Linked DNA regions of Homo sapiens: regions 2 and 3 are each linked to region 1. The links are contacts of gene promoters, found by promoter capture Hi-C in blood cells and fetal thymus (Javierre and others, 2016). All regions are on one chromosome and are shown on one strand. The core of a region is centred on a gene start or on the middle of the fragment in contact, and the rest is flanking DNA. Distances in the headings are between cores, read along the strand shown. Region 1 holds the start of PRODH2 (proline dehydrogenase 2). Region 2 holds the start of PMIS2 (PMIS2 transmembrane protein). Region 3 overlaps HAUS5-DT (HAUS5 divergent transcript).

Region 1 (4,525 bases), core at 718-3,217:
GTGAAACCGTGACTCTACTAAAAACACAAAAGTTAGCCAGGCGCGGTGGCAGACGCCTGTAATCCTAGCTACTCGGGAGGCTGAGGCAGGATAATTGCTTGAACCCGGGGGCAGAGGCTGTAGTGAGCCGAGATCGTGCCACTGCACTCCAGCCTGGGCAACAGAGTAAGACTCTGTCTCAAAAAAAAAAAAAAAAAAAAAAAAAGACCTAGGACTTCACGCCTGTAATCCCAGCATGTTGGGAGGACAAGTAGGGTGGATCACTTGAGGTCAGGAGCTCAAGACCAGCCTGGCCAACATGGTGAAACCCCATATCTACAAAAATACAAAAATTAGCCAGGTGTGGTGGTGGGTGCCTGTAGTCCCAGCTACTCAGGGGGCTAAAGCAGAAGAATCACTTGAACCCGGGAGATGGGGGTTGCAGTGAGCCGAGATCGCACCACTGCACTCCAGCCTGGGTGACAGAGCAAGGATACGTCTAACAAAACAAAACAAAAAAATTAAGACATATGGTTTCCATTTTAAAAAAAGAAAATAGGATATAGAAGTCCCCATATCCCTCTACCCCATTACAATTCCTCCCATCCCCCACAATCAACCACCTCTCTGACTTCTGTGATAATCATGTCCTTACTTTTCTTGTCCTCATAGTTTGACCACCCACGCATGTATTCCCAACATTTTACTGCAGTTTCACTTTCCTTGCTTTTATATTTATTGAAAAGTATAGACCAGCCACAGTGGCTCATGCCTGTAATCCCAGCACTTTGGAAGGCTGAGGCGGGCAGATCACCTGAGGTCGGGAGTTCAAGACCAGTCTGACCAACATGGAGAAACCCTGTCTCTACTAAAAATACAAAATTAGTGGGGCGTGGTGGCACATGCCTGTAATCCCAGCTACTCTGGAAGCTGAGGCAAGAGAATCGCTTGAACCCGGGGGGTGAAGGTTGCAGTGAGCTGAGATTGTGCCATTGCACTCTAGCCTGGGCAACAAGAGTGAAACTGTGTCTCAAAAAAAAAAAAAAAAAAAAAAAAAAAAGAATAATACAGCTTGCCCTGTTTGGTGTCTGGCTTCTTTCACTTGACATTGTGAGATTCAGCCACACAGTTGTGTGTATCAGTATCCATTCTTTTTCATTACTGTATAGTATTCCATTGCATAACTACACCACCATATATGTATCCATTCTCCTTTTGATGGACATTTGGGTAGTTCAGACACTGCTCCTCTGAACATTCTTTCCTGTACATGTTTCCTGCTGTCCATGTTTAAGGTCTCTAGGATATGTACTTAGCATGGAACAGCTGGGTTATATAGGTTATTTGTCTTTTCTTTTTTCTTTTTTTGGCGACAGAGTCTCACTTTGTCACCCAGGGTGGAGTGCAGTGGCACAATCACAGCTCACTGCACCCTTGACCTCCCAGGCTCAAGAGATCCACCTTCCTCGGCCTCCTGAGTAGCTAGGACCACAGGTGTGTGCCACCACACACAGTTAATTTTTGTATTTTTTGTAGAGATGGGGTCTCACTATGTCGCCCAGGGTAGTCTCAAACTCCTCGGTCTTGGCCTCCCAAAGTGTTGGGATTACAAACGTGAGAACCGTATTTTCAAATGTATTCAATAACACTACAGCGTTTCCAATTTTAAGAGGAAGCAATTGCCACAAAAGTGATTAAGTAGCCTGTCCTGGATCACAAAGCCCGGTGTCCTGAGCCCAGGGATCCTTGCTCCGGAGCCCCTGCTTTCCCCAGCACATGGTGGTTACCTAATAAGTGCAGGCTGTTGTGCTGAGCATTCTTGGGGGCTGTTACTGGGGTTCACCTCCCGTTTCCGTTACTCTGAACTCTGTCCCCATTTGTTAATAATTAATTGCCCCCAAGGAGCCTGTGATCCTGAGGCTTTGCCCAGTTAATCAGTCACTGCCCCTGGTCTGGGCAAGGGGCAGTTGGTGAACTTGCTGCCTCCAGAGAACCTTCCCTGGTGTGGAGGCAGCCAGGGACCCAGGATGCTCCGGACCTGTTACGTGCTCTGTTCCCAAGCTGGTCCCCCCTCCAGGGGCTGGCAGTCCCTGAGCTTTGATGGCGGGGCCTTCCACCTTAAGGGCACAGGAGAGCTGACACGGGCCTTGCTGGTTCTCCGGCTGTGTGCCTGGCCCCCACTCGTCACTCACGGGCTGTTGGTGAGCAGTGATCCTGAGGACCAGCCTGGAGGCTCCTCATAGCCTGGCGCTGAGCCCTCGCTCCCTGTCACCCAGCTCCAGGCCTGGTCTCGGCGACTCCTGGGCTCCCGGCTCTCAGGCGCATTTCTCCGAGCATCCGTCTATGGGCAGTTTGTGGCTGGTGAGACAGCAGAGGAGGTGAAGGGCTGCGTGCAGCAGCTGCGGACCCTCAGCCTCCGACCACTGCTGGCAGTGCCCACTGAGGAGGAGCCGGACTCTGCTGCCAAGAGTGGGTGAGTAGGGAGCCAGGGCCCAGGGAGGCTGGGAGGACGCAGGAAGGGGCTTTGCTGTTCGGGCCCTGACACCTGCTGGCTGGGCAGTGAGGCGTGGTATGAGGGGAACCTCGGTGCTATGCTGCGGTGTGTGGACCTGTCACGGGGCCTCCTGGAGCCCCCCAGCCTGGCTGAGGCCAGCCTCATGCAGCTGAAGGTGACGGCGCTGACCAGTACTCGGCTCTGTGTAAGGAGTGCAAAGACGGGGGTGCGGGGAGGGCGCGGCTGCCCATCGGGCTCCCCTCACCACCCCGCCTACCACCCCATTTCAGAAGGAGCTAGCCTCGTGGGTCAGAAGGCCAGGAGCCTCCTTGGAGCTGAGCCCCGAGAGGCTGGCTGAAGCTATGGACTCTGGGCAGGTAAGGATCTCAAGCGGGACTGTCGGGGACAGAGTGCCTTGGACTTAGATGCGGCCACACCGCACGCCAGATGTTCAAAATGCTACGGCCACCTCCAGGCTTGGAACAGCCAGCAGAAGTGCAGCTGTAGCTCCCAGGCATGGTTGAAATGGATGGAATCAGGGTCATCTGGGTTCTCAGGGAGGAGCCTGGAGGCTGGAGGCTCTCAGAGGAGGGATTGGGATAGAAGCTGTTTATCAATTAGAAGGAGGTACATCAGTGTGTTCTCAGTCAACACAGCTGCATGGGTGTGAGCTGGCTGGGTGTAAGTTCTGATTAGGCCAATGGGGTCTTAGTTTGTTCATTCAATCATTAATTCCTTTTTATCTCCACATTCTCTTTCAACCCTACTCCATCTTTTTTTCTTTCTTTCTCTCTCTCTCCTTCCTTCCTCTTCCTCTTTTGCTCTCTCTCCTTCCTTCCTTCTTTTCTTTTTCCTTCTCTCCCCTCCCTCCCTCCCTCCCTTCCTTCCTTCCTTCCTTTATTCCTTCCTTCCTTCCTTCTCTCTCCTCCCTCCTCTCTCTCTCTCTCTCTCTTTCTCTTTGTCTTACTGTATTGCACAGGGTGGTCTCTAACTCATGGCCTCAAGCAATCCCCCAGCCTCAGCCCCCCAAAGTTCTGGGATTATAGGTGTGAGCCACCACACCCAGCCTGCCGTCTTGTATAATGCATATCTTTTTGTTTCTATGATTTTGTTTTGCCAGGTGTATACCATTCGTGGGGGGCATATTTTCCCCAATATTCTATTATAAAAATTTTCAAATATACAGAAAAGTAAAAAGAATTGTACATGAACATCCATGCCCCCGCCACCTTTAACTATACTCACTTTAAATCATATCTATCCCTCTATTCCTCTATCCATCCATCAATCCATCTTATTTTTTGGTGCATTTCAAAGTAAATTGCAGACATGTTTTCCCCCTAAATGCTTCAGGATATGAATAATGGGCTCATTAATTAGAGCCCAATAATTATTCGCAGTACTTTTTTTCTTTCAAGGTAAAACAATGAACTACACACATTGTAAATGTGCCCTTTGATGAACCTTAACCAATACACACACTTGAGCAATCCAAATCCCTATCAAGATTTAGAACATGGCCGGGGGCAGTGGCTCACGCCTGTAATCCCAGCACTTTGGGAGGCTGAGGCGGATGGATTACTGGAGGTCAGGAGTTCAAGACCAGCCTGGCCAACATGGTAAAACTCCGTCTCTACTAGAAATACAAAAATTATCTGGACGTGGTGGCACACACCTGTAGTCCCAGTTACTTGGGAGGCTGAGGCAGGAGAATCGCTTGAACCGGGAGGCGGAGGTTGCAGTAAACCGAGATCGTGCCACTGCACTCCAGCCTGGTGACAGAGTAAGACTCCGTCTCAAAAAAAAAAAAAAAAATTCTTCTTGCCTCACCCTCCCAAATTGTTGGGATTATGGGCTGAGCCACCATGCCCGGCCCCCACTGTTTCCAATAGTTGATTCTAGCTGCTGCATGGTTTACCTCTCCTGGGGTGAACCCCTGGGTGGCCTCTGTGTCTCCACCCTCCCAAACAATGCTATAGTGGACATGCTGATGTTTCTTTTTCTAACCTTTTTTTATTTGTAATTTTTATTTGTTTATCTATTTATTTATTA
Region 2 (4,525 bases), core at 1,404-3,903, 230 kb after region 1:
ATTACAGGCACGCACCACCACAGTGGCTAATTTTTGTATTTTTATAGAGACAGGGTTTCACTATGTTGGCCAGGCTGGTCTCGAACTCCTGGCCTCAGGTGATCCTCCCACCTCAGTCTCCCAAAGTGCTAGGATTACAGGTGTGAGCCACTGCACCCGGCCTTATTTTTTACATTTATTTATTTTGGAGACAAAGTCTAGCTGTGTCCCCCAGGCTGAAGTGCAGTAGTATCACTATGACTTACTGCAGCCTCAAAATCCTGGGCTAAAGTGATCCTCTCACCTCACCCTCCTGAGTAACTGAGACTACAGGCGTGTGCCACCACGCCTGGCTAATTTTGAAAAATTTTGTAGAAAAGAGTTATCTATCGACTTGCTGCCTAGGCTGGTCTCAAAGTCCTGGGCTCAAGCCATCCTCCTCTCTCAGCCTCCCAAAGCATTGAAATTACAGGCACGAGCCACTGTGCCTGGCCTCGTTTTGTGTTTACCTGGTGCTAAATACCAGTTGGATACCCGAGAGTGAAATTCAGGTTGGATGAAGTCTGGGAGCTGAAGTGGAGGAGGCTGGCTGGCTTTCCAAGGCCTGTAGCAGAAGGTGACACTTGGGTCTGCCTGCTGATGTTGACATGGACCATCCTAACCTGACATGGCTTTGCAGCTGAATGTGACAGGCCCAGCCTGGGCTGGATCTGGAGAGGGACAGGGATGGCTAACCCTCTAGATCTGCTAACATGACAGACAATTAGGCATCATCCTATCTGCAGGCATCCCCATAACCCAGAGCATTGTCCCACAAACACATGAGATCTGCCCAGACACCCAAGCCCACAGAGGAGACAAACTCAGCATCACAACAATTACAATTAAGGTGGACTAGGGCCTTTGTTGTTTCCTTCTATTATTATTTCCTATAGACCACCCAACAAGATGGATGTCTCTGTTGGGTATGAACTTGAAGCTGTAATCCCAGATGTGCAAGAAATAGAACTCTATTCTCCTGCATCTGCACTGGTTTGGGTGGATTGGGCTGTGGAAACAGGCCAAGCATGTCATTTGTCAACATGGTAGTCTATTTTCTGCTTGACCACATGAGGCAGTTGGGGGAAGGGAGGCTGTTCCTAGAATGGTTCAGGGACCCAGGCTAATGGGGGCTTTGCCACGTCTACAACATGTGGCCTTCTAAATCATCACATGGGTATCCCTTGCCCCGTTGGCCGGGGGAGGAGGAGTTTAGAGGAGTGTCCCAGGAGACATTGAAAAGCCAGGTTTGTTTGTGGTACATGTCAGTTCTGCTCACATTCCACAGGACCAAAGCACATTTCATGGCTGCAGAGGGGAACCTCTGAGACGTGGCCAGGCAATGTTCCCAGAACAAAGAGGCGATGGGCTCTGGGGGACAGTGAGCAGTCTCTTGCCCAGCAGCTCCATTGACTTTCTACTGAGAATCCCCATTCTCCATGGTGGTGGAAACTTAGTTCTGCTAAATATTGTGCTAAATATTCATCTGGTTCTGAACTTGGGGTTGTCCATGAAGCTTGGGCATCAGAGGCAGCCCCGGGGTGTCTGTGGCCCATGGTGTCAGTCTAGATCTCTGTTTTGATTCATGCACGATGGCTCCCTGCTTATCCCTAGTTTTCCTCTACAGTTCTGTCTCCACCTGGCACTTGGGATTCCTATGGAACCCACCTTCTTCTCACTAGGCTGGGCCATGGGGTATCCTCCTTGGCTGTCTGAGGTCATTTCTTTGTAAATGTCTACACCATGTAGCATATCTTCTTTGAGAACTTGGAGCCTCTCTAGGCCTTATCTGTGAGGAGGGATTATAGATAACAGCTGGGGTCTCTGACGCCCCTCTTCCTCAGATGCAGATTCCAGGAACCTTATGGATGTACTATTGTCTAATCTCTCTCTACATTCCCTTTTCCATGAATGGGGAACCAATGCCTTTCTGGAGGGGGGAGAGGTGGTCTTCATCAGCTATTCTGCCAAAGCTATTTGCATTTCTTGAGGACTTTCCATTCTTCTCCTAAGAGCTTGACATTTGGATGTCAGAAGCTGGAAGAGGTTTCTGTTTTCTTATTGCTGCTCTGAGACACTAGACATCTCCAATCCCAGCTCAAATGAGAAGACCCCTAGAGAATAAACATCAGTTCAGATTTCTAAATATCATCCCCACATTGGCAATTATGCCTGCTTTAGAGACAAAGGAACTATGCTCAAGAAAAGTATCTGTTCAGGGCTATACAGTTTTTCAGTGTCAGAGGTAAGTTTTTAACTGACATCTGCCTGAATTCTATGTCTGTGGGCTTCCCCATTGGGACATTCTGATTTTCACAGTCTAGGAAACAGCTCCAGGGAAACACAGATACTGACCACTGACCCAGAAAACAATCATGGGCATGTTGACACACACACATACACACACACCACAGGAAACCAGAACATTCCATTCCAGTTTTTTGGTTTAAAATTCCTCTGAAAGAACAGCCCAGTGTCAAGGAGCTAAAGGGATCTAGGGCATGAAGTGTGGACCCCTAGGGTGAACGAAGACAGCTCTGGAGCTGAGTGAGTTGAAGTAGCACAGGCAGGTGGTCTGTGTGTTCCTGGGTTGGTGGGTTTCTTGAATGTTGAGTTCCTTGGTTAGAGGATTTCTTGGCTAGATGTCTCAGCGGTTGAATTTCTTGCCTGATGGCTGACTTGGCTGGTTAGTGTTTGGTGAGTGGCTCGGTTGGGGAGCGGACCCCTGGGTTGCTATGCCTAGACTTCATTAATATAGGACCAAGCCATAAATGATGCCTAAGCCAATCATTACCACGAATGCACCGAACCAACCAGTTCGGCCTGAGTTGATGTAAGCCTCTTCCCATTCACTGTTCTGGTTGGCCTTCATAGTCTGTAGGGGTGGAAGCATAGATGTGGGTTTCTGTGTCCAGGAACCCTGGGGAGAACGGTTGGAGACCTGCAGTCACTGAGGGAAAGCCCCTATGCAGGTCCCAGGATAGGAGCAGATGCAGGGGCCAAATGGAGGACAGGGTAGGCTGGGTGCAGTGGCTCACGCCTGTAATGCCAGCACTTTGGGAGGCCAAGGCGGGTGGATCACAAGGTCAGAAGCTCGAGACCAGCCTGGCCAGCATGGTGAAACCCCGTCTCTACTAAAAATACAAAAATGAGCCGGGCACTGTGGCTCATGTCTGTAATCCCAGCTACTCAGGAGGCTGAGGCAGGAGAATTGCTGGAACCGGGAAGGCAGAGATTGCAGTGAGCCGAGATTGCACCACTGCACTCCAGCCTGGGGGACAGAGTGAGACTGGGTCTCAAAAAGAAAAAAAAAAAAAAAAAAGGACGGGGGCTATGACTTGGGCATTATTTTACCTCATAAGAGAAGTACAAAGCTGCCAATCCAAATGGAGGGAATAAAAGTATAGCAAAGATGGTCAAACATAGGTAGTTTGGGGCGTAAAATGCTAGTTCCTCTGGTGTCTGTGTAGGCTCTTGCGGCTCCTGGGGCACCTCAGCTGGGGCACCTGGACCACCTGTGGTAGTGGGAGAACCTGGGGCAGCTGAAGCACCTGGATCACCTGTGGTAGGGGGGGCGTCTGGGGTAGCTGGCGCGTTGGGAGCAGGCTGGGTGGCAGAAGGTGGTTTCAGGGCCATGACCTTTCCCCTCAAAGACGGACTCCGAGTGTCTTGAAAACGGAGCGCCAGACCCACTAGGCTTCCCCTTGTACTAACCAGACTCCCAGGACCCAAACCATCAAAGGCTGAAGCTTCGCAATGGAGAAACCAGCACCCCACGTCCTGATTGGCTGCCTAGTTAGGGGGCGTGGCCCCGCCGTTCTCGCCCACCCCAAGACACAGAGAGTGCAGCCAATCAGGAAGTGGGCTCCGCCCACCCTGGTAGGGATTGGTTGGAAGCCTAAGTGGTGGCTCTCGGCTCCTCCTCCTCCCACTGATCTCTCTCTGCAGCCTGCGCGGATGGGCGATGTCAGGAGGGTCTCCCAGGAGTTGTGGAAGAGAGAAACTAGACACGCCCAGTAAGAGTAAGAGATTTACTGAGGGGAGGAAAATGAGTAGTGTCAGAAGTGGATTGTAAAGTCTTGAATTAAAAATGAATTCCGGCTGGGCGCAGTGGCTCATGCCTGTAATCCCAACACTTTGGGAGGCCAAAGCGGGCGGATTACCTGCGATCAGGAGTTCGAGACTAGCCTGACCAACGTGGTGAAACCCCGTCTCTACTAAAAATACAAAAATTAACCGGGTGTGGTGGCAGGCGCCCGTAATCCCAGCTACTAGGGAGGATGAGGCAGGAGAATCGTTTGAACCCGGGAGGCGGAGGTTGCAGTGATTCGAGATCACACTGCACACTCCAGCCTGGGTGACAGAGTGAGACTCCATCTCAAGAAAAAATGACAAAAAAAAAAAAAAAAAAGAATTCCTTGGTTTATGCTGACAGAAAGAAAAAAGGAAAGAATAGAGAAAGAAGGGGAAAAGGGGGAAGATCTTTCTTAAAGTAGAACACAACCTA
Region 3 (4,525 bases), core at 1,230-3,729, 210 kb after region 1:
CAGTCCTCTCACCTTGGCCTCCCAAAGCACTGAGATTACAGGCATGAGCCATTATACCTGGCCACTTTCTGCTTTTATTTATTTATTTTTTTTGTGACAGAGTCTCCCTCTGTCGCCCAGGCTGGAGTGCAGTGGCACAATCTCGGCTCACTGCAACCTCTACCTCTTGGGTTCAAGCAATTCTCTGCCTCAGCCTCCCAAGTAGCTAGGATTACAGGCATGCACCATCATACCCGGCTAATTTTTGTATTTTTAGTAGAGACGGGGTTTCACCATGTTGGCCAGGCTGGTCTCAAACTCCTGACCTCAAGTGATCCACTTGCCTCAGCCTCCCAAAGTGCTGGGATTACAGGTGTGAGCCACTGCACCTGGCCTCACTTTCTGCTTCTTATGCTCAATGTCTCCTTGTTTTGGAGACATGTCACCATTTGTCCTTTTCTTGGTTCCTTTCTCATGGTATCTGTTCTGTTGGCCTTGGTGGGAGGTACTGGTGCCTTCCTGCTTTCTTAGATCCTGAAGGAGCAGAGCCCCTGTGGCCTCTTGGTCTTCTTCTGTCAGCATCTCTCTCCCTTTGCTTTATCTGAAATCTCTTTTCTGTTTTTCTGGATAATTTCAGGATGCTTTTTGGAACCCATCCACCATCTGAGAGATAATAAGAAGCTTCTCTAGGACTTGTGATTTTGGTTTCAGCAGCTCCTTCCACGTTTGAGAAGAGTCTTCTCATTTCTTACTCATAGAACATCCCATCAGACATTTCTCCTGATCCACATAGTAATTCAGGGATCCAGGCTTCTTCCATAAGGTGATTCAACCATCTTCTATGGGCTCAGAGTCTTTTGAATCCAGGCAGAAGAGAGAATAAGGAACTCGCACCTGCTTCTTGAAAGTCTTCACCCTAAAGTGACATACATCACTTCTGCTCTCAGTCCATTGAACATAACTTGTCTTATGGCTTCAACTAGCTGCAAGGGCCTCTGGGAAATGTAGTCCTGGTCTAGGCAGTCAATAAACATCCTGCTGGCTCTGCCACAGAAGGCCTTTCTAAGATGTTCTTTGAGCTGAGACGTGAGAGCCAAAGTGTGAGAGCTACTTGAAAACTGTGAAAATGGAGTTCCCAAAGTGGGAACAGCAAGTGGAAAGACCCTGATGCTGGAATGTGCTCAAAGGAACAGTAAGAAATGAGCTTCTGGCTGGGCGTGATGGCTCATGCCTGTAATCCCAGCACTTTGGGAGGCTGAGGCAGGTGGATCACCTGAGGTTAGGAGTTTGAGACTAGCCTGACCAACATGGAGAAACCCCGTCTCTACTAAAAATACAAAAAAATCAGCCGGGTGTGGTGGTGCATGCCTGTAATCTCAGCTACTTGGGAGGCTGGGGCAGGAGAATCGCTTGAACCCAGGGGGCAGAGGTTGTTGTGAGCTGAGATCGTGCCATTGCACTCCAGCCTGGGCAACAAAAGTGAAACTCCGTCTCAAAAAAAAAAAAAAAAAGAACTTTTATTTTGTGAGCTACTGAAATGGTGGGGTTTATTTGTTATAGCAGCTAGCATGACTCTAAATAATATACCTTGTAGACATCATTGCCCACTAGCTCAGTGTATCTCAAACTACTTGTAACTATGGAGAAGGATCATTTGTTTGATGTTTCCAACCTGTCATGGACCAATCCTTTTGGTCTCTACCCTGTTCAACAAGAAAATCCATTGATCCTATACTTGGATGTCATGGATATGTCAAATTGCTGTGTTTCTAAACACTTGCTGGCAATTTCCGTACTTATCTGGTGGCACACCATTGCAGACACCAGCTCGGTTGGGGAGACCCTAACCCACTGGTGCTAGAGGAATTAAACACACACACACAGAAATATAGAGGTGTGAAGTGGGAAATCAGGGGTCTCACAGCCTTCAGAGCTGAGAGCCCCGAACAGAGATTTACCCACATATTTAGTAACAGCAAACCAGTCATTAGCATTGTTTCTATAGATATTAAATTAAAAGTATCCCTTATGGGAAACGAAGGGATGGGCCGAATTAAAGGAATAGGTTGGGCTAGTTAACTGCAGCAGGAACACGTCCTTAAGACACACATCGCTCATGCTATTGTTTGTGGCTTAAGAATGCCTTTAAGTGGTTTTCCACTCTGGGCGGGCCAGGTGTTCCTTGCCCTCATTCCCGTAAACCCACAACCTTCCAGCTTGGGCGTTAGGGCCATTATGAACATGTCACAGTGCTGTGGAGATTTTGTTTGTGGCCAGTCTTGGGGTCAGTTTATGGCCATATTTTGGGGGGCTTGCTCCCAACACCATAATAGTTGCTGGACCAGTCCTGGCACCACTTTAGCTTCTTATTCTGTTTTATTTTTCTCTATAGCATTTACCATTCCCTGTAATTATCTTGTTTATTTTTGGGTATACTTGTTTATAGTTTTCTTTCCCACTAGAATGTAAGCTCCATCAGAGAAGAAGTTGGCCTTACTTCTCTTGCTCCGTTGTGTTCCTCGTTCCCAAGACAATGCCTGGGACACAGTAGGTGCTCAGAAAGTATTTGTTAAATAATGAGTATTTGTTAAATAAAAATCATGGCTGGGAACAGTGGCTCACGCCTATAATCCCAGCACTTTGGGAGGCCAAGGCAGACAGATTGGTTGAGCTCAGGAGTTTGAGACCAGTCTGGGCAGCATGGCAAAACCCTGTCTCTACAAAAAATATAAAAATTTGCTGGGCATGGTGGCATGCACCTGTAGTCCTAGCTACTCAGGAGGCTGAGGCATGAGAATCACTTGAACCTGGGAGCCAGAAGTTGCAGTGAGCTGAGATTGTGCCACTGCATTCCAGTCTGGGTGACATAGTGTGACCCTGTCTCAAAAAAAAATTTAATAAAATGAAATAAAAATAACAAGGAGGGTGGGGGGAAGGAGGCAATCCATATCTGTTACAGAGGCTCTCTACAATCAGAACCTGACCAGAACTCTAACCAGTTTGTTAACAGCCATTGAGATCCCCTCAAGAGCTGTGGTTTTTTGATAGACCATGGTAGCTCAGATTAGATGTCAACTGAAGAATCATGAGGTTTTGATATGGTTTGGCTGTCCCCACCCAAATCTCATCTTGAATTGTAGTTCCCCAAATCCCCATGTGTTGTGGGAGGGACCTAGTGGGAGGTAATCGAATCATGGGGGTGGTTACCCCCATGCTGCTGTTCTTGAGATAGTGAGTTCTCACGAGATCTGATGGTTTTATAAGGGGCTTTTCCCTCTTTGCTTGGCACTTCTCCTTCCTGCTGCCATCTGAGGAAGGACGTTTTTGCTTTCTTTTCCACCATGATTTTAAGTTCCCTGAGGCCTCCCCAACCCTGCGGAACTGTGAGTCAATTAAACCTCTTTCCTTTATAAATTACCCAGTCTTGGGCAGTTCTTTTCAGCAGCGTGAGAACAGACTAATACAGGTTTACAAATTTGGAAAGGAGAGCTTTATTTCTCATAAAGAGTTGCAGCCTGCAGCCGGGCCATCTCACAGGCCGAGAAGTGTAGCCTCCGGTAGAAGCTGAGAGCAGGCACCTCCAGTAAGGGAAGGATAAGGTCAGAGTTAACGCTGAATGGCTTGGCTCAGTATACATATTCAACAGGTTATAGGAGGAGCTATGAATATTCATGAAGGGAAGGTACAGCACATGTGTAGTAACATCCCATATTCACTTTTTTTTTTTTTTTTTTTTTTTTTTGAGATGGAGTCTTACTCTGTCACCCAGGCTGTAGTGTAGTGGTGCGATCTCAGCTCACTGCAACCTCTCTTTCCCAGGGTTCAAGCAATTCTCCTGCCTCAGCCTCATGAGTAGCTGGGATTACAGGCACCCATCACCATGCCTGGCTAATTTTTTTATTTTTAGTAGAGACAGGGTTTCACCATGTTGGCCAGGCTGGTCTCAAACTCCTGACCTCAGGTGATCCGCCCACCTTGGCCTCCCAAAGTGCTGGGATTACAGGCGTGAGCCACCGTGCCAGGCCCCATGTTCACTTTGGAGTGGAGACTTAACACTTAAATGTATTACAATTAGGCCCTATACATCAAAAGGTGATGCAGAGGACACAAAGGCCCTTTGTGTGCAGCCTCTGTAGACTGGCCAGAGCCACACCCCGTGGTTAGGTGGCCTCTGATCAGGAAGGAATGCTGGTCAGTTGTTATGTTGAAACCACAAAAGGGAGGAGCAGCCATGTATTTCAGGCCATTGGTTGAAATTAGCAGTGAATGAGTCTTTCAATAGGGCTGGTTTCTGTTTAACCCTTAGGGAAGAAAGCTTCATGGCAGTCAGCAAGGGAGGAGGTAGAATGAGGTGTGCCCGACCACCCGTTCAGTCACGGCTAGGAACTCAGCTTTTAGTGTTTCTCTGTAGGCCCCTTGGCCAAGACAGTGTTCATTCAGCCAGTTGGCGGACTTAGGATTTTATTTTTGTCACGTGCGTCCGTGTGAAGAGACCATCAAACAGGCTTTGTGTGAGCAGTAAAAGCTTTTTAATCACCTGGGTGCA

What was found. The method cuts DNA at HindIII sites, captures the fragments that hold promoters and counts their contacts. A CHiCAGO score of 5 or more calls a contact.
Region 2: a contact is called between a fragment that was not itself captured here and the fragment with the promoter of PRODH2 in region 1, in 2 of 17 cell types (M2 macrophages and M1 macrophages). The highest score is 5.9, in M2 macrophages.
Region 3: a contact is called between a fragment that was not itself captured here and the fragment with the promoter of PRODH2 in region 1, in 3 of 17 cell types (M1 macrophages, M2 macrophages and M0 macrophages). The highest score is 6.4, in M1 macrophages.

Annotation. Positions count from the first base shown.
Region 1 is chr19:35,810,287-35,814,811 of GRCh38, reverse strand. It overlaps PRODH2 (proline dehydrogenase 2), which reads left to right and starts at 1,967. Exons shown (of 10, transcript NM_021232.2): 1 at 1,967-2,180; 2 at 2,256-2,452; 3 at 2,540-2,678; 4 at 2,764-2,850. The coding sequence starts at 2,007. The HindIII fragment of the contact is 7,636 bases long and covers 1-4,525 here.
Region 2 is chr19:35,585,389-35,589,913 of GRCh38, reverse strand. PMIS2 (PMIS2 transmembrane protein) reads right to left here and starts at 3,741. Exons shown (of 2, transcript NM_001395412.1): 1 at 3,373-3,741; 2 at 2,618-2,938. The coding sequence starts at 3,654. The coding sequence ends at 2,768. The HindIII fragment of the contact is 2,233 bases long and covers 1,537-3,769 here.
Region 3 is chr19:35,604,895-35,609,419 of GRCh38, reverse strand. HAUS5-DT (HAUS5 divergent transcript) reads left to right here. Exons shown (of 2, transcript NR_186318.1): 2 at 617-1,031. Among named protein-coding and RNA genes, the nearest start is that of HAUS5-DT, 5.5 kb to the left of the region's middle. The HindIII fragment of the contact is 3,634 bases long and covers 663-4,296 here.